6 separate regions of the Homo sapiens genome follow, and all the other regions are linked to region 2. The links are contacts of gene promoters, found by promoter capture Hi-C in blood cells and fetal thymus (Javierre and others, 2016). All regions are on one chromosome and are shown on one strand. The core of a region is centred on a gene start or on the middle of the fragment in contact, and the rest is flanking DNA. Distances in the headings are between cores, read along the strand shown.

What was found. The method cuts DNA at HindIII sites, captures the fragments that hold promoters and counts their contacts. A CHiCAGO score of 5 or more calls a contact.
Region 1: a fragment that was not itself captured here is called in contact with the fragment with the promoter of NDUFS4 in region 2 in 1 of 17 cell types (M1 macrophages); the score reaches 5.4 in M1 macrophages.
Region 3: a contact is called between a fragment that was not itself captured here and the fragment with the promoter of NDUFS4 in region 2, in 1 of 17 cell types (M1 macrophages). The highest score is 5.9, in M1 macrophages.
Region 4: a contact is called between a fragment that was not itself captured here and the fragment with the promoter of NDUFS4 in region 2, in 3 of 17 cell types (M2 macrophages, M1 macrophages and M0 macrophages). The highest score is 7.7, in M2 macrophages.
Region 5: a fragment that was not itself captured here is called in contact with the fragment with the promoter of NDUFS4 in region 2 in 2 of 17 cell types (erythroblasts and endothelial precursors); the score reaches 6.0 in erythroblasts.
Region 6: a fragment that was not itself captured here is called in contact with the fragment with the promoter of NDUFS4 in region 2 in 2 of 17 cell types (M1 macrophages and M2 macrophages); the score reaches 5.7 in M1 macrophages.

Annotation. Positions count from the first base shown.
Region 1 is chr5:54,019,662-54,024,467 of GRCh38, forward strand. All of the region lies in intron 4 of ARL15 (ARF like GTPase 15), which reads right to left. Among named protein-coding and RNA genes, the nearest start is that of MIR581, 70 kb to the left of the region's middle. RefSeq lists an enhancer at 195-1,101. The HindIII fragment of the contact is 516 bases long and covers 1,699-2,214 here.
Region 2 is chr5:53,558,560-53,563,498 of GRCh38, forward strand. It overlaps NDUFS4 (NADH:ubiquinone oxidoreductase subunit S4), which reads left to right and starts at 2,080. Exons shown (of 5, transcript NM_002495.4): 1 at 2,080-2,201. The coding sequence starts at 2,104. RefSeq lists an enhancer at 1,982-2,481. The HindIII fragment of the contact is 3,063 bases long and covers 1-2,228 here.
Region 3 is chr5:53,941,187-53,946,071 of GRCh38, forward strand. All of the region lies in intron 4 of ARL15 (ARF like GTPase 15), which reads right to left. Among named protein-coding and RNA genes, the nearest start is that of MIR581, 8.0 kb to the right of the region's middle. The HindIII fragment of the contact is 1,241 bases long and covers 2,651-3,891 here.
Region 4 is chr5:53,878,830-53,883,680 of GRCh38, forward strand. No RefSeq gene overlaps it. Among named protein-coding and RNA genes, the nearest start is that of LINC02105, 62 kb to the left of the region's middle. RefSeq lists an enhancer at 3,373-4,572. The HindIII fragment of the contact is 1,176 bases long and covers 2,607-3,782 here.
Region 5 is chr5:53,912,027-53,916,677 of GRCh38, forward strand. The region is part of intron 4 of ARL15 (ARF like GTPase 15); the gene reads right to left. It also overlaps the pseudogene RNU6-272P. Among named protein-coding and RNA genes, the nearest start is that of MIR581, 37 kb to the right of the region's middle. The HindIII fragment of the contact is 1,285 bases long and covers 2,208-3,492 here.
Region 6 is chr5:53,993,334-53,998,419 of GRCh38, forward strand. The region is part of intron 4 of ARL15 (ARF like GTPase 15); the gene reads right to left. Among named protein-coding and RNA genes, the nearest start is that of MIR581, 44 kb to the left of the region's middle. The HindIII fragment of the contact is 2,369 bases long and covers 2,599-4,967 here.

The DNA.
Region 1 (4,806 bases), core at 707-3,206, 460 kb after region 2:
CCTAAATTTGAAAAGGAAATGTGAATATTATGACATTCTAATGCTCATGCCAATGTAGCCTTATACAAACATACACTTGATTCTGTAAAAAATCTGGAACAAAAAGTAATATTTATAATTGGGTTGTTATAAATTGAAGAATCAAGTAGGAATGTAAGCACCATCTATTTCCATTTTTTAAAAAACCAGACCTATACTTTCACTGCTTTTCACAAAATATCTACAAAAGCATTAAACTCTTTCATCTACAGCACACTTTGCAATTATTCTCTTCTTCTCACATCTGAAAAGCAAATTAGCAGTTCTCAAATGTGACGCTACAACACCAGACAAAATTGTAAGCTCTGAGCTTTGTTAAAACTAGTATGAAAAAACTAAATATATCTGTAGATCTAAAAGAAATATAACCAAAAAAGTAAACATATGAAGTATTAAAGTTACTTATAATTGGAAATATCTGAAATATTAAAATGAGATTTTAAAAATCAGTGGTGACCCTCCCCCTCTCACACTGTCAATGGAGACTGTGTACGTTCCAGGAACCTGGACTGGCACTGGGGGAATGATGTGTCCTTTCCCCTCCTTACAGGAGCAGTGTCAGCGGAGGCCTACTAGTTAGGACTTTCACCACCACCTTGCAGTACCAAGGCCACCCCCCTGCAGTGTCAGTAGAGACTGTACTCAGAGCAGTAAGAATCCCCACCTCTCCCAGAGTGGGGGTATCATGGGAAGGCTGGTAAGGAGCCTGAACTCCTGCCCCTGCCAAGCAATAATGAGGTATGCCTACCCACCAGATGCCAACAAAGACTTAGTGGGTAACCCAGACATCCAACCCCATTGAACAAGTAAAGAGGTAGAGCAGTATCAGACGACATCTACTAGACAGAAGGTCTCAAAAAGATCCATCCAAAATTTCATGAAATAATAGCCAAAGTGTCTAAAATTTGATGAAAAATGACTTGTCATACCAAGAACCAGAAGCACCTCAACTTGAATAAGAAAAGACAGTCAGCAGGGCTTCGTGGCTCACTCCTGTAATCCCAGCACTTTGGGAGGCTCAGGTGGCCGGGAGGTCAGGAGTTCAAGACCAGCCTGGCCAACATGGTGAAACCTGGTCTCTAATAAAAATTAAAAGAAAAAAAAATTAGCTGGCTGTGGTGGCTGGCACCTGTAGTCCCAGCTACTCAAGAGGCTGAGGCAGGAGAATCGCTTGAATCCAGGAGGCAGAGGTTGCAGTGAGCCGAGATAGCACCATTGCACTCCAGCCTGGGTGACAGAGTGAAACTCCGTCTCAAAAAAAAGAAAAGACAGTCAAGAGACACTAACACCAAGACACAGATATCAGAATTTTCTGACAAGGATTTAAAATCAGCCATCATAAAAATGGTTTAGGGCCAGGCACAGTGGCTCACGCCTGTAATCCCAGCACTTTGGAAGGCCGAGGTGGGCAGATAACCTAAGGTCTGGAGTTCGAGACCAGCCTGACCAACATGGAGAAACCCTGTCTCTACTAAAAATACAAAATTAGCTGGGTGTGGTGGCACATGCCTGTAATCCCAGGTACTTGGGAGGCTGAGGCAGGAGAACCGCTTGAACCCGGGAGGCGGAGATTGCAGTGAGCTGAGATCATGCCATTGCACTCCAGCCTGGGCAACAAGAGTGAAACTCCATTTCAAAAAACATAAACAAAAACAAAAAAGCTTTAATGAGCAATAATAAAGAAGCATAAAACAAAAGAAAAAATATAAAACATCAGTAAGTAGAAGATGTAAAGGATCAAATATAAACTTTAGAACTAAACAATACAATAACTGAACAATACAAAAGCTCAGTGATGGACTCAATAATAGAAGAGCGAAAACAAAAGAATCAGCGTACCTGAATTTCTTTAACAGAACAACAGAAATTACTCAATCTGAACAACAAAGAGAAAAAGTCTAAAAACAATGAACAGAGCCTCAGGAACCTGTGGGACCATAATCGAAGATTTCCTTTGTGTCACTGAAGTTTCAGAGGGAAAAAAGAAAGAGGGTGTGGCTGAAAACTTCTTCTAAGAAACAATGGCTGAAAATATCCCAAATTTGGCAAAAAGACATAATGATTGAAGAAGTTTACAGATTGAAGTTTAGAGAACCTCAAACATTTGAAAAACCCATGGAAATCCATGCCAAGATACAACATAATGAAATTTCTGAAAAATAAAGACAAAGAAAAAGCTTCAAAGCAGCAGGGCAGAAAGGGACACCTCACCTAAAGAAGAATAAAAATTAAAATGACAGCAGATTCCTCCCCAGAAACCACGGAAGCCAGAAGGAAATGATGCAACATTTTCAAGTGCTGAAAGAAAAGATCTGTCAAGACAGAATCTGATTCTCAGTGAAAATATCCTTCAGAAATGAAGGGGCAATTGAGACATACTCAGACGAAGGGAAACTCAGAGAATTTGTCACTGGCAGACCTACCCTAAAGAAATGGCTACAGAAAGTTATCAAAATGGAAGAGAAATGATAAAAAGAAGAAATACTGGAACACTGGGAATAAGGAAAATTGAAAAGAGCAAAAATACGCGTAAGTATTATTGGGGCTCAGGAAACAATGTCCCAAAGTATGGTGCTTTGGCATGCTGAGTGCTTTGAATCAAGGTTTCTCTGACCTTCTCCTCACCCTCCTCCAGTCCCCTGCTGCCCCTGTCTCTCATCTCTTGCCCCTCTTTCCCTCCCAAAGTGCAGGAAGGTGCTTTCTCTGAAGTTCCCTTATCTGACTAAGGGAAGTTCCTCCAGAAGAAATGCAATTGCTTTGAGCCCCCCTCTCTATAATCTTATCAAACAGAGAAGATTAGCTCACAGGAAAGGAGACTAAAGGTCAAAACCACCTATTCTGAAGATTGCTAGCTGAGAGACTTTATCCGTATAACAAGACAGCCTCTGCTCATCACACATTTTTCTCCCCTCAAACCTCTATAACCTGTTACCACCTCCCACCAGAAATCCCAGCCCCTTATTTCTTTCTGTAGCTCAAAATGCTATTTAAGCTTCCACCATCAGGCCCTTTTTTGAGTCTCATATTGTGTGGGGCTCCCGTCTATATGCATGTAATAAACGTGTGTGCCTTTTCTCCTGTTAATCTGTATATTGTCAACTTTATTCCAGAGACTCAAATTATTGAACCTTCAAAGGATGGAGGGAAAGTTCCCTTCACCCCTATGCCCTTCTCCTCTTGAGAGATATCATGTTTGATGGTGGAAGAAAAAATTACAACACTGTCTGATGTGGTTCTCAATGTTCTCAAAGAGGAGATATAAAGAAGAATAAGTAGAAATCGTTGAACTGAAAAATGTAATAATGAAATTAAAAACTCAATGGATAGGCTCGACAGCAGGATGGAGAAGTCAGGTCAGTGAACCTGCAGACTGAAAAACAGGAATTACCCAATCTGAACAACCGAAAGAAACTAGACTGAAAAAATAAAAAATATTTAAGACAATTATATTATAAATGAGGAGGGTAAAGGGATGTAGAGAGAGATAATAATTTTTACATTGGACTTGAATTAGTAAAATGTTGACACAAATAGGCTGTTAAAGATTATGGATGTACAGTGTAATACCTAAAACGACACTAAAAATCTAAACAGACACATTTAAAAATATTACAGATATATGGAAATGCAATTATAAACAAAGTTCAAATAACCCTCAGGAAGGCAGGAAAAACAAAACAGTGAAAGGTAAAGAGACGGTTAAGTCGAAAAAGCAAAAAATGAAATGGCAGACTTAAGCTCTAGACTTTCGAAGATGGGAAATACAGGATTGACTCTAAAGGGGTACGACTTTATCTTGATCATGGTGGTGATTACCCAAATCTACACATGTGAAAAAAAAAAAAGACATGGAACTATATGTACACATTATACCGTTGGGGCTCAGAAACTGATACACCAAAATATGGCGCTTTGATGTGCTTAACTGAAGAAGAAGCCTTAGGCCTCTCTGACCTTCCTCCTCCCTTCCTTCTCTCAATCCTCTGCGCCTCCCAAAGCAAAAGATGAAGTTATTCTCTGAAGTTCCCTTATCTGCTGAGAGTCTGGACTTGCCAAAGAAGAAAACAATCACCTCTGGTCCCTTCCCTGAGTTTTCATTAACTGAACTCATATCACAGGAAGAAAGACTGAAGTCTGTCAACACACCTGAGCAGGTTTTTGTCACGAACCATCGTGTCTGCTCTGCTGGCCCAACAGACTTTGTCCTAGGCCGGTGTATGTTCTTCAAGCCCACTGAATTCCCCTAAAAATCATTTACTACTCTCCTAAAATCATCCCTACTTCCCCATCACCCTTTCCCCTGAGAAGAAGGGTATATAACCATCAGCACCCCACTATGTGGTGGATTAATCACTCTGGGATTCTTCCCTGTGTGTGTTAATAAATTTGTATGCCTTTTCTCCTATTAATCTGCCTTTTGTCAGTTGATTTTCAGTGAACCTTCAGAAGGCAAAGAGGGAGGCTTGCCCTTGGCCCCTACGATACAAGTTTCCTGGCTTGGTTGTTGTACTATATGGTTTTATAAAATGCAACCATGGAGAAAACTCGGTGACGAGTACACAGGATCTTTCTCAGCTATCTTTGTAACTTCCTGTGACTCTATAATTATTCCAAAATAAAAATCAATGGCAGTTATGTAACATGAAGCTACATGCAGGTAATGGTACTTTTGCAGATTTGTGAAGAAAACCAAATTCGTGAGTAACATGTACTGCGATGTTAGATTTATCCATACTTTTTAATACTTTGTATTGTATAAAAACTTAG
Region 2 (4,939 bases), core at 830-3,329:
AATACAAACTACAGATTGAAGAAAATATTTGTGAATCATGCATCTGACAAAAGACACATCTAATATATGAAGAACTCTCAAAATGTACAGGTAAAAAACCAAATAATGCTAATTAGAAAATGGGCAAAAGACATAAGGACATTTAACTGAATGGAATATACAGATGGCAGATAAAAACATGAAAAGATATTCAACATTATTAGCCACCAGGGGAATAAATGTAAAACTGTGATGAGGTATTACTGCACATTTATTATTTACTTTAGCTCAGCTAAAACAAAAATAGCAATAATAGAAAATGCTGGTGAGGATATGGAGAAACTGGATCTCTCATACATTGCTGGAGGAAATGTAAAATGTTACAGTTACTCTGGAAAACAGTTTTTAATTTCTTTAAAAAATGACACATACATGTATCACATGACCTGGCAATTGCACTCCTGGGCATTTATCTCAGAGAAATGAAGATTTTTGTCCACATAAAAACCTGTATTCAATTGTTTGCAGCAGTTTTATTTGTAATGGCCCCAAATGGGAAACAATCAAAATGTTCTGCAATAGGTGAATGGTTAAACAAATTGTGGTACATCCATGTCATGGAATATTACTCAGCAATAAAAAAGGAATGAACTATTGATAAACACAACAACTTGGATGGGTCTCAAGTGCATTATGCCAAGTGAAAGAAGCCAATCTTAGAAGGTCATGTACTGCATGAGTCCATTCATATAACATCTCAAAATGTCAAAATTATAAAAACAGAAACAGAGATCACTAGGGTTAGGAGGGCAGGTGTTACCAAAAAGGTTAGCACTAGGGAGATCTTTGTGAGGGTGGAATAGTTCTGTATCTTGATCATGGTGGTGGTTACACAAAATATGTAGTAGAATGACATAGGACTACACAAATACTTTATATCAATGCCAGTTTCCTGGCTTTGATACTGTACTAGAGTTATACGAGATGTAATCACTGGGGGAAACAGGTACACAAGACATCTGTACTATCTTTGCAACTTCATGTGAATCTATAACTATTTCAAAATGAAAAGTTTGAAAGAAAATTTTCTCTGAGGCATCTCTCCCTTGCCTTCCTTCATCTTGTGCATTTCTTTCCCTGAGTATGACTTTTTCTCTTTCTTTCTCCCTTTCCCTTATGTACTGGGTTTTCCTTTAACGGTCCATAATGCCAAACTATGTCATTCCCCATCCTCCTATTGTTCCTATTTATTTAATGAAGGTTATGTTTTCATGTGCTTAATTTTAAAAGCAGGAAAGTACTAACTCTTTAAACAAATTTCTTAAAAAACAAAACCCAAAACTAACCTGCTTTTTATTTTATATAATTCAGTTAGTCATTATTCTTTAAGGTCGGAAGTCCACAATACAAACATGTTTCCAACACTTGTATTGGAAGATAATTTTTGTTTTATATGCATGGAGCATTAATATCATTCTTCATGTCTATGGATTATGAACACACACACATTCAGGATTTACTGGGGAAACAGTGACATCAAATATTATGTTCTATTGATTCTTCATATAAATCTACATGTCAAAAAATAATCCTTTGCCAGATCACGTATCCAGATTTTTCGTTTGGAAAATACGAACATTACTACTACAGAATATCAAACTGAATACAGCCCTGTCCTGAGGGCTTGCAAAGTGAATCTGGCAATACTTTGGAAAAGTACTACTGCAGGTTCTCAAGGACCCAAAGAGCTCTCCAGCTTTTCCAGTGGGTTCAGCCCCAAATATCCTAATTTCTTCAATAAATTACGAGTTGCAGGTGTTTAAATATGCAAGTATATTTTGGTCTTTTCGTTATCATTGTAAAACACCAGTCCTAACAAGCAGTAAAGATTACACTTTATGGTGGTAATATTTACAGTTAATGCACTTCTGCATTTCTTCCCGCACATTTTTCTTCTTACTTATTTAAACTAAGCGTTTCCCCTCTTTTTTTAAGCCCCAGTATTAAAAAGAAAATAAAATCCCAAAGAATTTCGCAACATTGCGATTGCACTGGCTTGAGAACGAAGGAAGTTAGTCCCTTGCGGTGATCCGTCCTTTCATCCTGGCGTTTGCCTGCAGCAAGATGGCGGCGGTGTCAATGTCAGTGGTACTGAGGCAGACGTTGTGGCGGAGAAGGGCAGTGGCTGTAGCTGCCCTTTCCGTTTCCAGGGTTCCGACCAGGTAATAGAATTTTCACACTTTTCTTCAAGCTTCTTGGGTCCCTCCATTTTTGCGGAGTCTCTGCTGGCTGAGTTCCGGAGGAGGCCTCGGGGAAGGCGTCCTCTGTTGACCCTTTTCTCGGGAGAAGTCGGGCGGACTAGGGACTGTCTGCTATCAATGGGCGTTGGCCAGGCGAGTGAGGGCGTGAGTGCGAGGCCGGGGAGGAGGACCTGTGGTTTTCTGGAAGCTTTCGTATTCGGCTTGTCGCTGAGGGAGAGGGTCCGTGGAGGTTTTGCCTCCGGAGCTGCAAGCTGAACCTTAGCCCTCAGAGAAGGGGAGGAGTCTCACTGATTTCTGTTTCCACTTTCTGCATCCCTTCCATTTGTCACCTGTTTGCCCACCACTCCAGTCCTTACAGAAGGGTTAAATCACTGTATCCCTTCCATGGTTTTAAGTGGTTTTAATTTGGTTTCTGCATAGGAAGATTGTTTATTCATCAGTCTGCTTGGGAGGAAAACTTGTTTGGAATTCAGTGTTAGTAAAAATATCACTGCTAGTAATATTGGAAGGTAATTTTTAAAAGGCTGGTGGTAATGCCTGGAGGTTTTCTAGGGATTTTGTTAAAGCCTCACAATAATTCAGGGATTGAATTGAGTTGTTGAGGGCTCTTTGCGTCCTTGAGAACCTAAAGTAGTACTTTTCCAAAGTATTGTCAGATTCAGTTGTCAGTTGATTGAGTTGTTACTGTTTTTCCTTGAAGCATTTTTGTGATGATTTTTTTTTTTTTGGCTGTATTAACCTTCCATTTTCTATTTTTCAGAATTTCCTGGAGTTTTTTAAATTATAGTACTAATGCTATACGTACATACACACACATATTAGAACAAAGATTGGAAAGACTGGATGGAGAGATTTGAAGGGGGTAGGAGGTGGATGCAAGTGGTTAAAAGTTGAAAGGAAGGTCTAGTAGAATGCTAATTGATTTAGTGTTAAATATAAATGGAATGCAGAGAATTAGGATGAGTTAATTCGGAAGAATTTTTAAGGATGAGTTTTATTAAGGTTTAAATATAGTGGGTGTTGGGTGGGAAAGAAGAGAGTGTCCCGTAGGGTCCGTGGCTTATGAAAAGGCTTGAAAGCATTAGTTAAACGATTACTAAATACATAGAATAGAGTCACTCAAAAGTAAGGGTGCTAAGATTGGGGAAAGGCAAATGATGTTTGTAATTAAGTGTTCCATATATGGAAAGTATTTTTCCTTTTTCTTTCTCTTTTTTTTTTTGAGATACATTCTCACTCTGACGCCCAGGCTGTAGTGCAATGGCGTGATCTTGGTTCACTGCAACCTCCGCCTCCCGGGTTCAAGCAGTTCTCCTGCCGCAGCCTCCTGACTAGCTGGGATTACAGGCGCGCACCACCACACCTGGCTAATTTTTGTATTTTTAGTAGAGGCGGGGTTTCACCATGTTGGTCAGGCTGGGTTAAGTATTTTTCTAAGGTAAAATACTTCACTGGTTAACTTAGAGTTAATATAGCGGTGACCAAGATTAGCCCTTCCTCCCGTACAGATTATAGGGATTAATTGTCATTCCCAGATAATAATGTACTCATGGTAGCCCCAGAACTGAAAACAAGTTTGAAGGGACCACTGGTTTATGGCTAATCAAAACATGGCTGTAATTTTAAGTCAAAGCCATTTTGTCAGCAATTATAGTAATTGAAGTTGAGATTAGATTTTTGAAACTCTGATGATAATTGTTACTACATATCCAAACTTAAGAGTTTTTGCCTGCAAATGTAAGAGATTTGAAAATAAATCATTTAATCTTGAAAAAAAATCTTAATGCCAGGGAAGACGTTTTTTAAATACAAATTAACACATTTATTTGTTTTCTGTGCCACATTTTTACCCTAAGAGCTTGTCATGTTCATCCTAATTTGAGGGAAATTTATAGACCCTCTCCCTTACATATTGTTTGTTCTTCATCCTTAAGCATTCTTTTTCCATTATGATTTGATAGTAATGAGGATCTGAAAAAGGTGAGTAGAAAGAACCAATTAATGGGAAAATCTACATCTAAAATTCATTTTATTGTAATGCTTAGAAAAACATTTGCAAATCATGTAACATTTCAGATCATTTGAATAGAATATGGGAAGTGGAATCAGTAAGGTAAGGAGTGGAGTAGGGAACTGAAGGAAAGGAAGGGCCGGGCGCGGTGGCTCACACCTGTAATCCCAGCACTTTGGGAGGCCGAGGCGGGCAGATCACAAGGTCAGGAGATCGAGACCATCCTGGCCAACACGGTGAAACCCCGTCTCTACTAAAAATACAAAAAATTAGCCAGGCGTGGCAGCGTGCGCCTGTAGTCCCAGCTACTCAGGAGGCTGAGGCAGGAGGATGGCGTGAACCCGGGAGGCAGAGCTTGCAGTGAGTCAAGATCGCGCCACTGCACTCCAGCCTGGGCAACAGAGCCAGACTGTGTCTCAAAAAAACAAAAAAAAAAAAAAAAAAGAAAAGGAAGGATGCTGTTAGCTGCTACATTAACATATTAATTCAATTATAGTATATCATCAGTGAAAAGCAAAACAAAGAATGCAACAACACATACACACAAGAGAGAAAAAATCTAGTAATGTGGGTGATTGAGCTGATCTAGTTACTTACTGAGCTTGTGCTGTAGTGTTGGTCTCAGTTTCCATGTGCTTCTCATTTCCCTGTACCGAATGTGAGGAGGCAAAAAAAGGGGTTAAATTGT
Region 3 (4,885 bases), core at 2,021-4,520, 380 kb after region 2:
AAGCTTTTTTAATATTTAAGATATGAAGAAATCCAACATTATACATCATTAAACCATGGCCAAATTCACAATAAAATGTGCCTGCAATCCTTTAAAAAAAGGATTATGTATACAGAACTACGTGGAAAACTTGCTGTTCTCAGAAAAGAACAGAATGAAACAGATAATAAATAAATTTCTATATCCAAGGTAGATCTTTCTTTTTACAGGAGGTCGGGTAAGTTCATACAGAAAAACTCTACAGAATGGGCCTGTCGTTAAAAATAAACGAAGCAAGGATTATTGGGTTTAGATCATTTTCTTAAGAATCAAAAAAGTTTTTCTAGGGCTTTGGCTAAGTACATGAAGATAAATGATGCCCAATTCTGGTTTTGCCAAATAACACAAGTCTTTTCAGAAACTACAAATTCCAGTGGCTCTGGCAGAATGAATATCAACCTAGGTCAGTTCTCCATAACCAGAACCCACAAATTTGCCAGTCCACTTCACATCTCAACTATTAGATAATAGCAGGCAAGATGCATGTTCCTGGTGGGCACAGTTGTTTATGTGGTGATTCTTCTTTGAGTTGTTGGTGTTTTCTCGCTTTCTTCCCTCCCTTCCTCCCTTTCCTCCCCTCCCCTCCACCTAATAGAGGGCCCACCTCTCTACAGGGTGCTCACCTCTAACTGTCTCCAGCAGTAGAAAAGGAAGTCAGAAAGCTAAGCAAGGCCTGGGTCAGGAGAGCTATTTATTTTCATGATGAGAAACCACCGCAGGGCTCTGGGAAGGGAAGTGGCACAGTCTGATTTATCTATTTAAAAAATCCATGTAAAGAGTATGGGGCGGGCAGGGGCAAGAATGGAAGCAGAGATGCCAGGTAGGAAGCAATTACAAGAATCCAGAGAGGAATGGTTGCAGGTTGCTTGGACTAGGGTGGTAATACTGTAGGTTCAGGATATATTTTGAAGATAAAGGCAACTGGTCTTGCTCATGTGGGCACTGAGAGAAACTGGGGCCAGGGAACTAGGTAAATTGTGGGGTGGGTGGGGAAGAGAGGGAAGGATGCTACTTTGACTGAGATGGAAAACAATGGGGGAGAAGTTGGGTTTGAGTTGTGTGGGGGCTTCAGGAATCTTTTGACCTTAAATGTAAGATGGCATCAGACATACCAGTGGCACTAGAAGCTGTGGAAGCACAGGAATAATCTAGAAATCGGTTGAGAGCTTTGGCTAGAGATTTAAATGTAGGACTCATCAGTTTATAGGCATCATTGGTGTATTTAAAACCATGGACCAAGGACCAGGCGCGGTGGCTCATGCCTGTAATCCCAGCATTTTGGGAGGCCGAGGCAGGTGGATCATGAGGTCAAGAGATCGAGACCATCCCGGCCAACATGGTGAAACCCCGTCTCTACTAAAAATACAAAAATTAGCTGGGCATGGTGGCATGCGCCTGTAATCCCAGCTACTCAGGAGGCTGAGTCAGGAGAATCGCTTGAACCCAGGAGGTGGAGGTTGCAGTGAGCCGAGATCGCGCCACTGCACTCCAGCCTGGGTGACAGAGCGAGACTCCATCTCAAACAAAACAAAACAAAACAAAACAACCATGGGAAAGGTGAGATGACCTAGGATATGAGTGTAGGTGGAGAAGAGATTAAAAACAAAATGAGGCCCGCATTCCACTATTTAGAAGTCAGGACATGTGAGGGTGTGATAAGCAGCCACCAGTGATGAAAGTGCTTCAGGAAGGAGGGATGGATCCGCTGTGGATTGCGTAGTAGTTGAGTCATGAGAGAACTGATTGGCATGACTTCAAGAGGGAAAATGGGAGGGGAGGAAATGGAGGCAACAAAGAGACAATAAATGTTCTCTCTAGGAGCTTCACGATAAGTGTGTGCTTGCAGAGCCAAGAAAGAAACTTGCTGGAGGAGGGCTGGTCAGTGGGGAGTGGGCGGGGGTGTTGGGGAAGATAAGAAGGGATTTTTAAAAGATTTTAACGGGCTATGTATATAATTTTAACACTCTGTATCCTGATTGTAATAATTCACTAGAGAGAAGAACAAAGTGATGATGCCAGAAAGAAAATGTAACTTCAGTAGGTGAAAGGAAAAAGGATATGGTAAGAAAGTGTGTGTAAAAGGTTAGTAGATTTTTTGTTTTGATGATTTTTATTTTCTCAGGGAAACAGGGAGTGAGGTCATCCACTGAGAAGGTGGAAGGGATACTGAAGGTTTGAGAGAGGAGGAGAAACTATGAATGAGTCCTTCCCAGAGAAGTGACCAGCTAAGATTACTAGAAAATTTGGGGCCCCTTGAGCCTTATGGTCATCAATTTAATAAGCCAGTCAGGAGTAGTATTGCTGGTTTTTCCTTCTGTCATGTTCAGTTTTTCTGATGCAGGTATGGAGTAAGTGAGTTGAAAAGACAGGAATTGTCAAAGACAGTGCTTAAAGATGAGGTTTCACAGGTGGTACAGCTACTTATAATGGCCAAGTCTGGTTGAGAATGGCCTGAGTGGGTGGCTGAGATAGAGTGAAAGAAAGATTGTTGGAAGGAAAGTGCTCAAGGAACTAAGAGAACCAAAGCTGGATAAATTTTCTACCTGAGAGCTGGAGTTTCCAAGAATGACAGACAGCCATGGGAAGAAGAGGTGTCAAACCAGCGCTCAAAAGCTTCTATGAATGATGGTCAGAATCAACAGGAAGCTGTACAAAATGTGTCCAGAACAGTAGTAGGTAGAATAGTGCAATGGCTTAAAATTAAAAGGAAATGGAATTTTTAATTGCAAGATAAATGGTCTGGAAGTGGCAGTAAGGAACAAGAAAGACACTCATCTCAACTCTGGACCCCATGTTACATGGGCATGGGAGATAAAAATCACAGCAAGTGAAGGATAGAAAATGAATTAAGATCCTTCTAGGGATCTTACAGGGCCTTAGAACTACATGGTAAACACCACCATGTCTGGCACAGAGCCAAAAACACAACAGGGTTTGAACAAATACTTGGGTTTTAACTAAAAGGAGTTTAAAAGTATCATCAATTCTGTAGACAAACAGCCTAGATATGGGGCTTTAGAAAAAGTCCACAAGGGAGTGGTTAAACAGCTTGAGCAAGAGACTTGGAATATATGAGAAAAGGGATGAAATAAAGAAATGACCTGGCCGGGCACAGTTGTTCGCACCTGTAATCCCAGCACTTTGGGAGGCCGAGGCAGGAGGATCGTTTGAGCCCAGGAGTTTGAGACCATCCTGGGCAACACGGTGAAACTTCATCTCTACAAAAAATACAAAAAATTTGCTGAGTGTGGTGGCATGCGGGAGGCTGAGGTGGGAGGATCACCTGAGTCTGGGAGGTTGAGGCTGCAGAAAGCTGTGATCATGCCACTGCACTCCAGCCTGGGTGGCAGAGTGAGACCCTGCCTCAAAAAACAAACAAACAAACAAAAAACAAACAACAAACCTGATCACCTACTGAGTAGCTCCCGACTGCACTCTCAGCTATTTTCTATCCTACTACCTTATCCTTTTCCTTGATTTCTTTGCTAATTATTTGTCTGCTTTTCTAGAATTGCTAATTTTCTGATTCACTACAAATGTATCAGCTTAATTACTATTTCTTTTGCTCGTCACTATATACCTAAGGCCTAGCAAAGTGTCTGGCACATATAATGTCCTCAAAGAATACCAAATAAACAAAATAGAGAAAAGCATGGTTAGAAGTAGCCCAATTAAGTTACACTATGCAGAGACAGGCCAATATAGGTTCAATACTTCTAAGGATCCCATCTTTGGGATGGAATTGACATTTAGAAAGAAGGCAGTGAAAAACAAATACTGATTCCTGGGCAACAGATCAGGGAGGCTGCATTCTTGTAGGCAGAGGGCTAAACAGCACTTGACTAAGGAGTAAGCTTGGAGTGGCTGAGAGAGATGTGAGTCAGCTTCCTCGTCTCTACTCAACCATCTTCAAAGTCCTGCCTCATGTGACCTTATTCCTACGATGATCCATTCTGTCCACAGTGGCCTTTCATGTTCTGTACTTCCTGATCTAACAGACAATCGCTATTTCCACTGTACTCCTAGCTTCTACATCACTATTACGTTGCAACTGTGAACACGGACATGTTTGTCGTTTACTGGGTATGTTTACTGAGTAGTTTAGACGTACATTGACATCAGACAGTTTATCTTTTAGATTATAAACTTGTAGAAGCAGGGGTTTGTAGTCTCCATAATGTAATCTTTGGTTCGTTAACTCAGTTTGTTTAGGTCAAGGGTGAAGGTTTAACCTCCAAACGAGTTATTTAGTTTTGCTTTGCTCCACTTTCTCAAACTACCTCCAACTCAGGCATTCTCAGCACACTGAGAAGTGTTAAACCAAGACAGAATAAGAGAAAAAATTCACATTTGAATGAAAATTCCAAACTTTACAATTGCAAACACCATACATTAAAAAGAACAGCAGTGAAATTCCAAAGCACCTGAAAAATGAGTTGCAAAAACAAAAAGGTTTATATAATCTAAAATTCCCGACTGCAGAAATATGTAAATATATATTTAAACTTGAAATATATGGCCATTGCTATTAAATGTAAAGTCAAGTAAATTTATGTTAAAGTAAAATGTAGTGTTCTCATTCCACTAACCATAAACATAGAAGTTTAGAGCTGGGAAGGACCTTGCAGGCCAGGCCCCTTATTTTGTAGACGAAGTAACTAAAGCCTAGAAGGGTTGCTGAGGTACCCAGCATCAGACAGCAGCACAAGTCAGCAGCACTGAAGTGGAGACACCACAGGCTTTGGAGACAGATCCATCTGCATTTGACCCTGATATTCCACCCTTTAGCTGTGTGGCATTGGGAACCCTCACTCTTTCAAATTTCAGTTTCCTCATGTATGAATGA
Region 4 (4,851 bases), core at 1,945-4,444, 320 kb after region 2:
AAAAAATAAAAAATTTGGGCCAGGCGCGGTGACTCATGCCTGTAATCCCAGCACTTTGGGAGGCCGAGGCGGCAGATCACGAGGTCAGGAGATCGATACCATCGTGGCTAACACGGTGAAACCCCATTTCTACTAAAAATACAAAAAAAAAAAAAAATTAGCCGGGCGCGGTGGCGGGCACCTGTACTCTGGAAGGCTGAGGCAGGAGAATGGCATGAACCTGGGAGGTGGAGCTTGCAGTGAGCCGAAATTGCACCACTGCACTCCAGCCTGGGGGACAAAGTGAGACTCCGTCTCAAAAAAATAAATACAAATAAAAAATAAAAAATTTGGGTGACTCTGGTTGGGTGTGGTGGCTCACGCCTGTAATCCCAGCACTTTGGGAGGCCGAGGCAGGCGGATCACAAGGTCAGGAGTTCGAGACCAGCCTGGCCAATATGGTGAAGCCCTGTCTCTACTAAAAATACAAAAATTAGCCAGACGGGGAGGCAGACGCCTGGAGTCCCAGCTACTCGGGAGGCTGAGGCAAGAGAATTGCTTGAACCCGGGAGCTTGCGGTGAGCCGAGATCGGGCCACTGCCCTCCAGCTTGGGAGACAGAGCCAGACTCTGTCTCAAAAAAAAAAAAAAAAAAAAAAAAATTGGGTGATTTGAAATTAACAAATGGAATGGAAATAGAGAGGTTTCTATTTCAGTTAATTTTTGTGATCTGACCTGAACATCTGGGCCAGTAAACAGCATAAGGGATGTGTCATGGCTCTCTAAGGGTCACATCTAGCATGGGGCTTAACACTGGTGAGCAGGAACAATATGGCCTTTAGGTGTTCAAGGAAATGCGAACAGTGTTGGTATAGATTTTGTAAAAATGTTCTAAATCCAAAATGTGTTAACTCCTGCTAAAGGAACGACTTTGCCCAAGTACCATTTTGGAATAAATCATGGGCGTAAAGGGGTCTTTCCAAGTTCCCAGTCCTCAATGACAGAAAATCAAAGCAGCCTCTTGAAACCCAGTTAAAACTCACTGCTACCTTCCTAGGTCAAACAGTAACAACAAAAAAACCCAGCAGGTTATATGCTTACAGGTTACTGCCTCTGTCTGGGCATGTGAATCGTGGCAGACATGCAGCCGCTTTAACTGTTAGGTGGAATAAAACACAAGAGACTGCTGCTGAATAAGAATTTTCCTCTTGGAGATTAAACATTCAACATTTCAAATATAAGTCATTTGTTTGATCAACAGGCAGGATGAGACAAGGCTGTTCTAGAGGAGGCAAAGCCCTTTGAATACAGAGAGGATGAAAAGAACAGTAGGTAATTGACAAGAGTTTGATTTTGCACTTTGGAAGCACCTTTGTGTGCTAGACACATGCTTCATTGTTGTAGCAGCAAAATAGCAGAATAAAAGGTGCTAGCTTTACAAGGTTCTATTTACAAAGATGCTTAAGAAAAGGCAAAAACTTCACTATGGTTAGATTTTTAGTTTTATTAATGGTCGCAGAAGCTAAACAGCACCCAAAAACAATTCTAAATTAGGAGGGCTAAAAAACAGAAATTAGGACCAAGAACAAATTTTTTAAAATCTAGAGACTGAAATTGCAATTTTAATATAATAAAATCCCTCACCCCCTCTAATTCTCTACGGTCATAAAAATAATCCAATTTAACAAGTGTTACAGGAATTAAAGTACTACAAAGACAGAGACTAAGTATGTCATATTTACAGCTATATCAATCCCTGGTACATAGTAGGTGTTCAACAAAAAGTGTTGCATTAATGAATAAAGTCCTAAAAGTATTAAAACCGAAAGTTCCAATTGTGAAATAAAACTGTACAATGCTAAGTTGAATCTCGACTAGCTGTCATCTCAAAAACCCTGTCAAAGCTGCTTAATAAAAGTGTTGGGTTGATACACTGCATGTCTAGAAAGTTGTAAAACAACTGGAGAAGGTCCAGAGACAAACCTGACTTGCTCCAGATTACAGAGAATGACAGCTAGACTTACTGTTTGCATTCTTGTCTCTGCCTTTTGGTGAGCCGTTTCCATTCTAACAAAATCTTCTCATTTTTAATATTTATATGTCTAATGATTTAATATCATACCACATCACTCTGGCCTTCAAGGTGCCCTGGACACACATTTTTCTGATTTACCTTTACACAGATTATACGCAAACTGGCCAGAAATCATTCATTTCAACATGAACCTCTCAGGTAAGAATTGTGGTCTTACTTCTCTCTCCAGAAACAGCTTTCTTCACAGACTCTGTTTAAAACCAGCTCCCGGCCGGGCGCGGTGGCTCACGCCTGTAATCCCAGCACTTTGGGAGGCCGAGGCGGGCGGATCACGAGGTCAGGAGATCGAGACCATCCCGGCTAAAACGGTGAAACCCCGTCTCTACTAAAAATACAAAAAATTAGCCGGGCGTAGTGGCGGGCGCCTGTAGTCCCAGCTACTTGGGAGGCTGAGGCAGGAGAATGGCGTGAACCCGGGAGGCGGAGCTTGCAGTGAGCCGAGATCCCGCCACTGCACTCCAGCCTGGGCGACAGAGCGAGACTCCGTCTCAAAAAAAAAAAAAAACCAGCTCCCTCCACCACCATCTTCTGTAAGCTTGTCCAGACATGGGGTACATCATTAGGCCAGGTCTTCCAGTCATTCCCTTGCTTGCAAAGCAATCATTTATAGGCGTTTGGTGCTTTGTCTGACATCTGTTTGATGCTGGAACTCTAGCCTTTGTCTCAATGAATCACTTGTCGGTGAAAGTCCATTGTAGGCTGGATTTCACACTTTCAGGAGGGGTTTGCCTGTGATGGAAGTGATCTTAGGCTTTTTGAAATAACCAGCTCCCTCCGCCTCCCTATATTCCATGAAGAAACAGGAAAATGAGAGAGTCTGGGGAACCTGGTGCTTATTCAAGCCTCATTTTGATTTGTTCCCTTGGGCCTGAGCCAGGTTAGCATCTCTGGGGACTACATTGCCAACTCACCTCCATGGTTGAAATGTTGCTGCTAGAAGAAAACTAGGCTGAAACATTTATGTAGGATTCTTTGAGATCATCAGATAAAAGGAAGAGATTTTTGAAAAAGAAGGAAGGAAAAAGGGAATTCACCATTATCTAGTAGTTAGCAGAAGATCGTTTTTTAAAAGTGTGGTGGAATGGCTGTACCCACGTTGGTCTATGTCTAGCTGGAGCAGTGGGGATAAGGAGTTGGACTGGATTATAAACCTGGCTGAGCCTAGCAAGGCATTACATCTAGAAACCACTTTCTTTATTCTCCCAACAGGGTACAAGTGACTTACAAGGCATATATGGTAAGTGAAGTTTCTTTGAAAGCCACCAGGCCCACACTATTCCCTTGTAGAAAGTGATTATTCATCTAGAATGCCCTGTGGAAATTCCTGTGTGCAGTCAGGACTTGAGAAGTACAGCAAGAAAGGGAAGGGGCAGGCTAAGCCTAAGAACCCTGTAGTTGGCCTTTCTAAACCAGGAGCCAGTGAATACAATATGCTTTGCAGAGCAGAGATGGCATGTGAGATGAGATTATAGAGAAAAATCTGATAGAGAAATCATGGGCTTTGAATTTCTCTTTGTTTCATAAGGAAAGGAAGATGCTAGACAGGGCGTATTGGAGAGATTCTTCTTTGTGACTTTTAACTTCTTTGCTTGGTTTCACAGTAAGTCACATTATGGAGAAGTTGTTACAAACAGATGAAACCCCAGGAAGGGAAGTCAGAATTTCCAGATCTGATGAGACAGTGGGTGGAAGAAAAGTTTGTCATTTAAAGCTTTAATTCAAAGAGAATAGGAAAGGGGAGGAGAAACTGACATCCCATCTGAGGCTTCTAAGGGATCCTTTTCATGTTCCTAAATTAGTACAAGGGGGTGTGGGGTAGGGTGCCAAACCTTGGGCTCATCAGTCACTTCATGCATCTGAGTTGAAAAACATTTAACCCTGAGATGCACATAATTTAAACATGCTGATTCACTGGTGACCAAATGCTGTGAGCCCTTGGGAGCCAGGAATTCCCAACATGATGTGGTAATGCATTTTACAGCATGAACTTCAGATCTCCAGGACCCAGGCTGGGGAACAAGACAGGGACTCTACATTCTAAAGTTTCTGCATAACAAACACAGACCCTCCCTTCCAAATGCATTGAAAATGAGGGATCCCAAAGGGCAACTCCCACTTCCAGCCCCACCACCCTACATACCTTTTCATTTCTGTTTGCGCCATTAGGTCAGGAGGTTAATGAAAATGCACTCTAAAGTTATAAAGAGGATGAAGCCAGGCACGAATATTAGATTTCCATTCAAGTCTGAATATGCAATATGGACATGAAGAAAACCCCATTTGCTTCAAAATCTTACAGTTCTGTTCACATTTACTTGGATAGGACTGAGATGCTTAGGAAGTTGATAACTGCTAATTGCCTACACTAGAAATAAACCTAGGAATGAAGGTTAGATTCCCAGCTTAGAAGTGAAACGTTGCAAGCTCTCTGTGTAGTCAAATACTAAGTGATGATAACGTTGCATTTGGGACCAAGCAAAAGCTGGGATTTAAATTTTTCATCTTCAATTACGTATTTTTTTTCTTTTTCTCTCTTCTTCTATCTATCTACCACTTGATTTTTCTTTCTTACTCTTTTTTTAGACCTGCATCCTTAAGGATGGATCTGTAAATGCACAGTATTTCCTCGAGTCACTTAAAAATATTACTTAACAGCATCAATCACCATTGAATGAAATAACTCATTGCACCAAACTTTGCCACTCAAGTTAATTTCACAGCACATATTATAAAATAATCCTTTGATTGAAGGATGATGCTTTATAATAATATCTTGAG
Region 5 (4,651 bases), core at 1,600-4,099, 350 kb after region 2:
TGGAATACTTTATGAATTTGCATGTCATCCTTCCACAGGAGCCACGCTAATCTCTGTATCATTCCAATTTTAGTATATGTGTTGTCAAAGTGAGCACCACACACTCTTTTAAGATTAAAAATATATATATTAACTCACTAATCCTCACGTCAGTCCATTGAGGAAAGTACTATTATTATTCCATTTTTCGAAGCTAGGACACCGAAGCTTAGACAGGTTAAAGAATATGTCCAAGCTATGGGGGCAAGACACAATAGTGGTGGTCTGGCCCAAGAGCCTGTGTACAGTGGAAATATGCTGCTTGTTACTTAGTATGCTGCATGCTGAGCTAGTACTAACAACAAAAAAACGGTTTTCAATGAAAAATCAGTGATTAATAACACGAAATGAAATCCAACAGTATGTAACTTTAGGTACTTATAATAGGGTTGGGATGAGATTTGTTGCAATGCCTCCTGAAGTCCCTTAAAACTCAGTCCACATCAGCAGCTACTCCTTGAGAGTATTGCAAGTAGAACAAAGCATTTCAAACCACAGAATCCTTTCAATGTTTTTATATTTCTCCACCATAATCTTGCAGCACCCCCTCCTCCAAAGGGCAGCACTGAATGCACAGACACATGACACATTGATATGATCAAGGTTGATTGGTGGCTTCCCACATATCATGTGAGGTCCACAAGAGACTAAAGATTGCTAGAGTATTGTGGAACCCTCAGTGATCTGAATTCAACTTATCCATTCATTCATTCAACAGATACTCAACAGGAACCTACTACATGCCAGATACTCTTCTAGAGACTAAAGATAGAGCGGTGAACAAAGCTGAATAATCCCAAACTTCTAGCTACTTACATTCTAATGAAGAAAGACTAAATAAATGTGATAAACCACTAAAATAGTATGTAGCATGTTAGACAATGGCATAAAGTACTAGGAAGATGAAGCAGGAAGATGCATGGGAAGTCTACAGTTCAAAACAGGGTGGTCAGGCCAGGCATGCTGGCTCACGCCTGTAATCCCAGCACTTTCGGAGGCTGACGCAGGAAGGTCACTTGAGGCCGGACTTCAAGACCAGACTGGGCAACAGAGTGAGACCCCATCTCTACAAAAAATTTTTTTAAAAATTAGCCAGGCATGGTGGCATGCATCCGGAGTCTCAGCTACTTGGGAGGCTGAGGTGGGAGGATTGCTTGAGCCCAAGAGGGCAGGGTTGCAGTGAGCCAAGGCTGCACCACTGCATTTCCCCATGGGCAACAGAGTGATATTCTGTGTCAACAAAACAAAACAAAGCAGGGTTGTCATCTCTCAATACTCACAGATCCTATCCCCTTAACTGAGTTTAGTCACTCCTTGAACTCACCTTGCCCTTTCCAAATATGAACTCTTTGCCCAAGACATTTCTTTCTCCTAGAAGGCCCTCTGTCCTGTTTCTTGTGAGTGGTAGTTTAGCTAGTTAACTGGACTGAAGCCGAAACTACCGTTGTTCAAATCCCCTTTTTATTACTTACTAACTCTTTGGCTTTGGGTAAGTCCCTTGACTGCTCTAGGCCATAGTTTTCTAATTTGGAAAATGGGTATAATAATAATGACAAGAACAATAATACCTATATCACAAGGTTCATTGTGAGGCTCAATTGAATTAGAATATTAAAGTGTTCAGAATAGTACCTGGCACTATTCTACTACTACTATGACCTCAACTAAATTTCTATCTGTGCTTAAGACCCAATTCAAATGCTACTTCTCAATCTCTAATCACAATAGCTGAAGGTGAGGTTTTCCTTCTCTGAGATCCTGTAGTCCCTTGGTTTTATCACTCTAATGGTATTTAACCTGTATCATTGCAAGTATTCACGCTATCTTGAAGTACAATTATTATATATATGTGAAGTACAATTATTATATGTGTGTGTATATTTATTTACTTATAAACAGCTTCTTCCCTCCTGAAATCACAGCACCTGAGGGTTTAGAATGAACATAAACTTTTCTTCTTCCTCCTTATCTCCTTTTCCCTTCTGTGAGTGTTTTAATCAGTTCATTATTTATATATACCAGAGAGTGGACAGGACAAGGAAAGGGAAGTGAAATTAGCAAGTGCACAGGCCCACACACACACTCTCACACACACACACACTTTATAGTTCTGTATTAGTTTATTACATTTAAATCTCCCAATGTTTTTGATCTCCTTCTCTGAGGAAAGCTTGGTGGTATAGCAGTCTATCCTCCAAAGATTTACAATCTAAATCGTGTAGAAAGCCTTAAGGAAAAAAAAAATCCCTCTCACTTCAACAACTTAAGCCCCAACCCTACTTGAAACTATGCCTTAAAGTGCTTGCTGTCTCCCCAAATATACCATGTATTAATTTTCACACTTCAAGACTGCTACTTATCCACCTGATGCATTCTGGAACCTCCTTCCCTTCCCCTGTCACTTCCCTTCTTTGTTTTCCTTGCTCTCCCTTCCCTGAAGAATTGACTGCTCCCTCAACCCAAGTAATACATAAATATTCGTCCATTCATTTCCCCTCTCCCCTGCTAGAGTGCAAATTCTTTGGGATGAAGACAGACCTCAAGGCTCAGAGAGCTTTGCCCAAAGTAGACCCTCTCACTCATCTTGGCGAATTCCGCATCTGGAGCAAGGTCTGAAGTGAGGCAGATGCTCAGAGTGTTCACTGAATGGAACTGAATGAGCTGCTAATGAGAATAGACAAAGGAATCTTTTCTTCTTTTCTTTCTCTTTCTTTTTATCTTCTTTTTCTTTTTCTTTCCTTTCTTTTCTTTTCTTTCTTTCCTTTGATGGAGTCTCGCTTCTTCGCCCAGGCTGGAGTGCAATGGCGTGATCTCAGCTCACTGCAACCTCCACCTCTCTGGTTCAAGCAATTCTCCTGCCTCAGCCTCCCAAGTAGCTGGAATTACAGGCATGTGCCAGCACGCCCAGCTAATTTTTGTATTTTTAGTAGAGACGGGGCTTCACCATGTTGGCCAGGCTAGTCTCAAACTCCTGACCTCAAGTGATCAACCCGCCTTGGCCTCCCAAAGTGCTGGGATTACAGGCATGAGCCACTGCATCTGGTCAGTCAGCCAAAGAAATTTCAGTCCCTCCTTCCCTCCCTTGTCCTTGCCTTCTGAGCAGAGATGCTGGGCACAGAGCTGACCAAACCAAACTACTAGGGGGAGGAGATACACAAATACTTCCTAAAACAGTCTGGGCAGGATGATCTATAGTTTTTATTAATTCAGTTTGTTGGGGGCTTTATCACACACAAGGCACTGTGCTGTGAGAGAGAAAGATAACCAAGACCTGATACTGCCCTCAAAGAACCCGTAGGCTACTGGGTGAAAAAGATAATAATTATAACAAGGTATGTATAAAAATGGCTGTGGGAACACAGAAGAGGGTGTGAGATTTACCTGTCTTGATAGTTGCTAACTCATTTGAAAATTCATAATATTTATAAATGATAATAAATCCATAGCAAAAGAAGCTTTAAAACTATAGTTCTCAAGTCTAGCATTGAACAGTTTGGACAATGTCTAGGTTATTTTATTTTGTGGAGAATAGGCTGTTTCTGAAAGCTCCCACTTTTATGGCCCAATCAGTAAGAGATTTCTATTCCAGCTGCTACACTATTCATTTATTTTAGTTGTAAAAACTTGAAAAAGCGAAAGGAAGAAATGTAAAATAAGCATCCCTGTCAAATTTACCCTTTTTCTTTAGAATGATGTTGATCCAAGACAAACAGTCTCAACCAGGGCAACATATATTTTAAATATCATTGCAGCAAGTAAGAAAGAGAAACGACTTGATTTAAGGTTGGTTTTTGATTTGTCAGGTGACTTTAAGTGATTCGCCTCTTGGTTCCCAATTTGGCTTCTATTCCAAGATAGAAATTCTAAAACTTGCTCTTTCACTCAGGTTGAAGTGCAGTGGCATGGTCATGGCTCACTGCAGCCTTGACCTTCTGGGCTCAGGAGATCCTCTCATCTCAGCCTCCCAAGTAACTGGGACTGCAGGCACACACTATTGCACCTGGCTTTTTAATTTATTTTTATATTTTGTAGAGAGACTGTCTTGAACTCCTGGGCTCAAGCGATCCTTCTCTCTCAGCCTTCCAAAGTGCTGAGATTACAGGCATGAGGCACTGCACCTGACCTGAAATTCTAAACGTACTCACAAAATACCCAGAACAGATTTAATTCAGAGAATACCTTAATCTCAATGTGGCTGTGTCCAGGTGAAGAGTCAAAATGTAATATTAAAAAAAAAAAAAGAGAAATAGAAAATTAGGTTCCACGATAGACACCAGGGCTTACTTGAGGATGGAGGGTGGGAGGAGGGAGAGATTTGAAGTACCAATTGGGTATGATATTTACTACCTGGGTGACAAAATGATTTGTACACCAAACCCCAGTGACACAATTTACCTGCTGCAGGGAAAACAACCTGCACATGTAACCCCCTAAACCTAAAATAAAAGTTGGGGGGAAAGAAAGAAAGAAAATTAGGTTTCAGAACACAAAGTATTATTATTATTATTTGGAAAGTGCCTAGTAAGACAGGGGCAGGTGACATGTTCTTTTAAGGCATCAGTACTAAGGCTGCCCAGCAAATACACAGCTAATCTAGAATATTCTGATAGAA
Region 6 (5,086 bases), core at 2,533-5,032, 440 kb after region 2:
GCATGGTAGCTCGTGCCTGTAATCCTAGCCTTTGTGAGGCTGAGGCAGGAAGATCCCTTGGGCCCAGGGTTCAAGACCAGCCTGGGCAACATAGGAGACCCTGTCTCTAAAAAATAAAGAAGGAATGATGAAGATAATGATGATGATGACAGTTTTGCAATCATCTCACAATTTCCTTTTCTATCTTTGAAATCAAACTCTGTCCTTACATTGCCTATTTCAACTTTCTGCACCTTTTACCTTGCCTATTTCAGCTTTCTGCATGTTTACCTCATATTGCTTTTGCCCTGGGGTTCTCCTCCCTCCTTAGAGTTTTATCTGTCTGTGCACTTTCTTTCCTCTCTCTGCTACTTTGCAAAAGCCTCCCACACAATTCTAGGTAATAGCAATTTAACAACATGCCCTCAGGTGGAATAATCAGCCATCATGATTAGTTAGAGTCAGGTCCTGGCTGAATCTGGGATTAGGGATGGGTGTCTCCTCAGGACCAAGGCAGTCTAGTCTCAGAAGAATAGAATTAAAGGGAAAATTCCAGTTTCATTAAGTGTGGCATTTTTTAATCAGCAAGTCACAGAACCTTATTACCAACATGTATTAAAATGAACTCCATTTTAATGGCAGTGTGTCCATTGTCAAGATATTTGTGGTTCACTATGGCAAGTAAGTTCATGCGTCCTAACCCAATCCAGTGGGGGTAAATGAATGAGCTGAAAGAGACTGGAATAACCACGTTGATAAGGATATCACAATGTAATTACTGAAAAGATGCCACTTTGGGACCCTTGCTCTTTTCTTTAACAGATTGGTATTTTGTTACTTTTAAACATTCCGTCATATAGTATTCCACCTGAAGAATATTTTAGCTCATATAATGACATTTAAGAAAAATATAGCAAAAAACCTAGAAGCCTTCTCCAGTGCCAAACTCATTTAGAAAGTTTAGCTTCTGACTAATGCAATGATGCAATGTAATACTACCAAATTCTTTCATCATATTTAGGAGTAAGTGATTACTTGTGGAAACTGTAATGTTTCCTAACAAACCGAGTGTTTCAGGGACAGACCACCCAAATGTATTATTATATAAAGATGTCAGTTACATAATTACATGAGAAAACAACACATTTTACTTTTTTGTTTTTTAACAACAATTATCCTCTCTGGGGAAGAGAGGCTGAATTAGCTGCTTAGCAAAGTGGCTCCTAGGGGCTCCAATTAACTTAGACACATTTAAACTGGATCCTTGATAATGTACATTTAACATGAGGAAAATGAAATTGTATTTTCTTCCTCCCAATCCCTAACTCCTGCCATGTCTGAACTGACTTTGCTGAGACCACCAACAGTGAAGATGCATTTAAAAACTGCAACTCACATCTAAATGTAGGCCATATACCAGCTGCCTTGTTTTAAAATTTTTTTTAAATTATTTTGAAAGTCCTATGCCATTAATATTAATATTAGAGCCATTTAAATGAAAACACACAAACCTCAAATCAACACTTATTTTTCTTTCTTTTTATATGGACAGGGGTCTCACTATGTTGCTGAGGCTGGTCTCAAACTCCTGTCTTCAAGCAATCCTCCCACCTCAGTCTCCCAAAGTACTGGAATTACAGGCATAAGCCACCGTACCTGGTCTAAACATCTACTTTTCTTAATGGGTGCCAAGACATTCTTTAAAAGTAACTGGGAGGCTGGGCGCGGTGGCTCATGCCTGTAATCCCAGCACTTTGGGAGGCCGAGGCAGGCAGATCACGAGGTCAGGAATTCAAGACCAGCCTGGCCAAGATGGTGAAACCCCATCTCTACTAAAAATACAAAAATTAGCTGGGCATGGTGGTGGGTGACTGTAATCCCAGCTACTCAGGAGGCTGAGGCAGAGAATTGCTTGAACCCGGGAAGTGGAGGTTGCTCCGAGCCGAGATTGTGCCACTGCACACCTGGGAGACAGAGCGAGACTCCGTCACAAAAAAAAAAAAAAAAAAAAAAAAGCAATTGGGGATTTTTTTAAATGATGTGAGTGTGCAGTTGCATTTAATTCAAATAATATTTTATAAACATTTGTCTACATTAGGGGTGTGCAATAAATGATTTTAAAAATGACTATACTGCTTATGTATAAAACAGAAATATGTTTTAAATATTTGATGCCTCACTACTCATAATTCTCAGTATTTTGGCAGACACTTATTGAGTGTCCAATGTCAGAAAACAGTTACACTACTAAGGTCCAAATAAGCAAAATAGCTATAGATTACTCATCTTCAAGAGTAGTTTATCATAGTTTATCAGTAAGAAAATTTGGCAAAGGAAGAGTACATTTTCATTAAAATGCTCAGTGTTTCAATGAGGATGCTCCTGGCATTTAAGATATGATAATTCTCCCTTTTCGGGGGTTGGCCTTGTCCTGGCATTCCTGGCCCCTGCCCACAAAATGCTAGCAGTGACCCCAGTTATAGTGATAATCAGAATATTCCCATACGTTCCCCAAAGTCCCCTAGGCAAAAAAGTACTTTCTCCAGTTGGAAACCACTGACCCAAAGAGTCTCTAGCTTAAAACAGAAACAAAAACAGAATAAGGGTGAAATGTGCTAAAGCTTCATTATGTGGTTTTAAAAAGCAGGGGTGGTTGAGTGTTCCTTAATAACTGTATATAACTTTACTTCCTTGTCTTTCAGTTTATTTGTAAAAGGTTTGTCTCCTGGGGGTTCATACATTATCAATAATTCTCATTGGCTTCTTCAGAGGAGGATGTTCAGGCAGATGTTCAGGAGAATGTTCAGCTAGATGGGTGAGCAAAAAACCCAGTTTTCTTAAACTTTTAGTTAAACTCAGCTCTGCCGCCTAGCTGGGGACAATGGCAAGGGAAATCAGATTGCAGACTAGTGTCTCCTGGGACTAATCTGACATTTATGAGGGGAGCCTCTGGTTGACGAAATGCGAGTACCAGAACAGAGCTGATGCATGTGTGATCATACTCAACATTAGAACACCCCTTCAGGCTGGGTGCAGTGGCTCACACCTGTAATCCCAACACTTTGGGAGACTGAGGCGGGTAGATCATCTGAGGTCTGGAGTTCAAGACCAGCTTTGCCAGCATGGCAAAACTCCGTCTCCACTAAAAATACAAAAATTAGCTGGGCACGGTGGTGCACATCTGTAATCCCAGCTACTTGGGAGGCTGAAGCACGAGAATTGCTTGAACCCGGGAGGCGGAGGTTGCAGTGCGCTGAGATCGCACCACTGCACTCCAGCCTGGGTGACAGAGTGAGACTGTCTCATAAAAAAAAAAAAAAAAAAAAAAAGAGAACACCCCTTCAGCTTGTGACAAGCAGCTAACATCTAGGTCTATATGACAAATGTTTTTCTTTTGCTACCTAAAAATAGGTTTCTGAGGCTGGTTAGGTGAAAGTCCCCTAGGTAGGAATGGTATTGTCTCTAGTTAGAGACTACTGATCCAAAGAGACCCTAGATAAAAAGAGAATAATGGTAGGCTAACACCTTACACCTGTACCTTACGCCTGAAGGCAGAAGGGAGCAGGAGCACTGGGATGGACACAGGCTCAACATATCTAAAATTATAATCTTCCTATTTTTACAGATGGGAAGAAAGAGTTCAGAGATGTGGGATGACTTGCAGACATTCTGTGCAGTTTAATAAACCTTCCTTCTCCTGTATCGTACAGCAAGATCTCTTTCCAACATTACTACCTCAATAGGGTGAAGAATACATTTCTCATCTACCATTTGACAAATTTATGCTGAAATGCAATTCGTTTGCTGAACCTTGGAAAACAACTCAACAAAGTTCTGTCCTTTACATTATAAATCCAGTTCACAAAAACCTTTCAAACTTTTTTCTCCAAATAATCTGTCTTCTTCTTTATGTCCTGAGCTCAGAAGAGTTCCCTAATCTGAGCTCCTCAACTCTGGGCTCGTCGTTCTTCATTTCTTGATATGTGCCCACTGCTAAGAGTTGTCTTTGTTTATCACTCTAGCCACAGCATTCAAAATCTCCAAGCAGTAGACAGTCTCTCTGCTGCCCTATCAATCTCTTTTCCTGACTATTTCTTAAAAACCAAATTAAGGGTACCTTTTATTTCCTGATGAATAGCAGGCCTTCCCACACCACTTCTTGTTTCACTCTCCCTAAATCCTCATCACCTGATAATTTTCAATAATGATCCAAATGGCAACAGACTACATCATCTCAGCACCATAGCATGAGAGAATGAAAGGGACCTTGGAGGTCATTTGATTAACTGGATAAAAAGTGTTCTCTAAGAAACTTTTCAGATTCTTCAGTGGGCATCCAGGAGCAGGATGAAGGAGGTGAATGGGGAAGGGGGCAGCAAGCAGAATTTATGGTCCTCACCTCCAATTTAGCCAGAACAATTCCACTTTAATCTGTTTCTCTAATTATGCTAAGTACAATTTTATTTTAAAAAGAAAATAAAAAGAGGGACGCTTTGGAAATCTCCACTTAAAAAAAAGAAATGTAAAACCACTAATCTATTTCCCACCATGCTGAGTCCTTTAAAAAGAGCCTGATGTAAACTTTGCAAAAATTTGTGATTAGCAAAGGGTCTTTAAAATGCCTAGTCTCTTAGTAATCATAATCCCTCACCTTAAACACTGGCCTGCACCACCAAGAAAAGAGAAAATGTGATTTACTGATGGATGTGCTGGGAGAGGAAGAAAGAGACTCATGTTTGACTGCTGATTTTCCCATTAGCTAGCTGCTAAGCCACTTAACCTCCTCATGCCTCAGTTTCCTTGCCTGCAGAATGAGAGCTGGGCTCTACTCAGGCATTTTCTAGCTCCAAAATTCTGGGTTCTATGAACCAGATTTTTGTGAGGGGGACTGAGCCCTATTTCTCTCGCTTTTCCCATCTCTTGAATAATGTATCGTTCTTTTCCAAAGGAGAAGTGTCCAGGGACATCAGGAAAAAAAAAAAAAAAAAAGCTTTTATCCAATCTAACACCAGGACTAATGGAATGTTTACAGACAGACTGGCTGGCCTCAGCCCTTTAGTTTCTCCCCTTTTATCTTTCTAATCCTCCTTTCAATGTGTCACCCCTC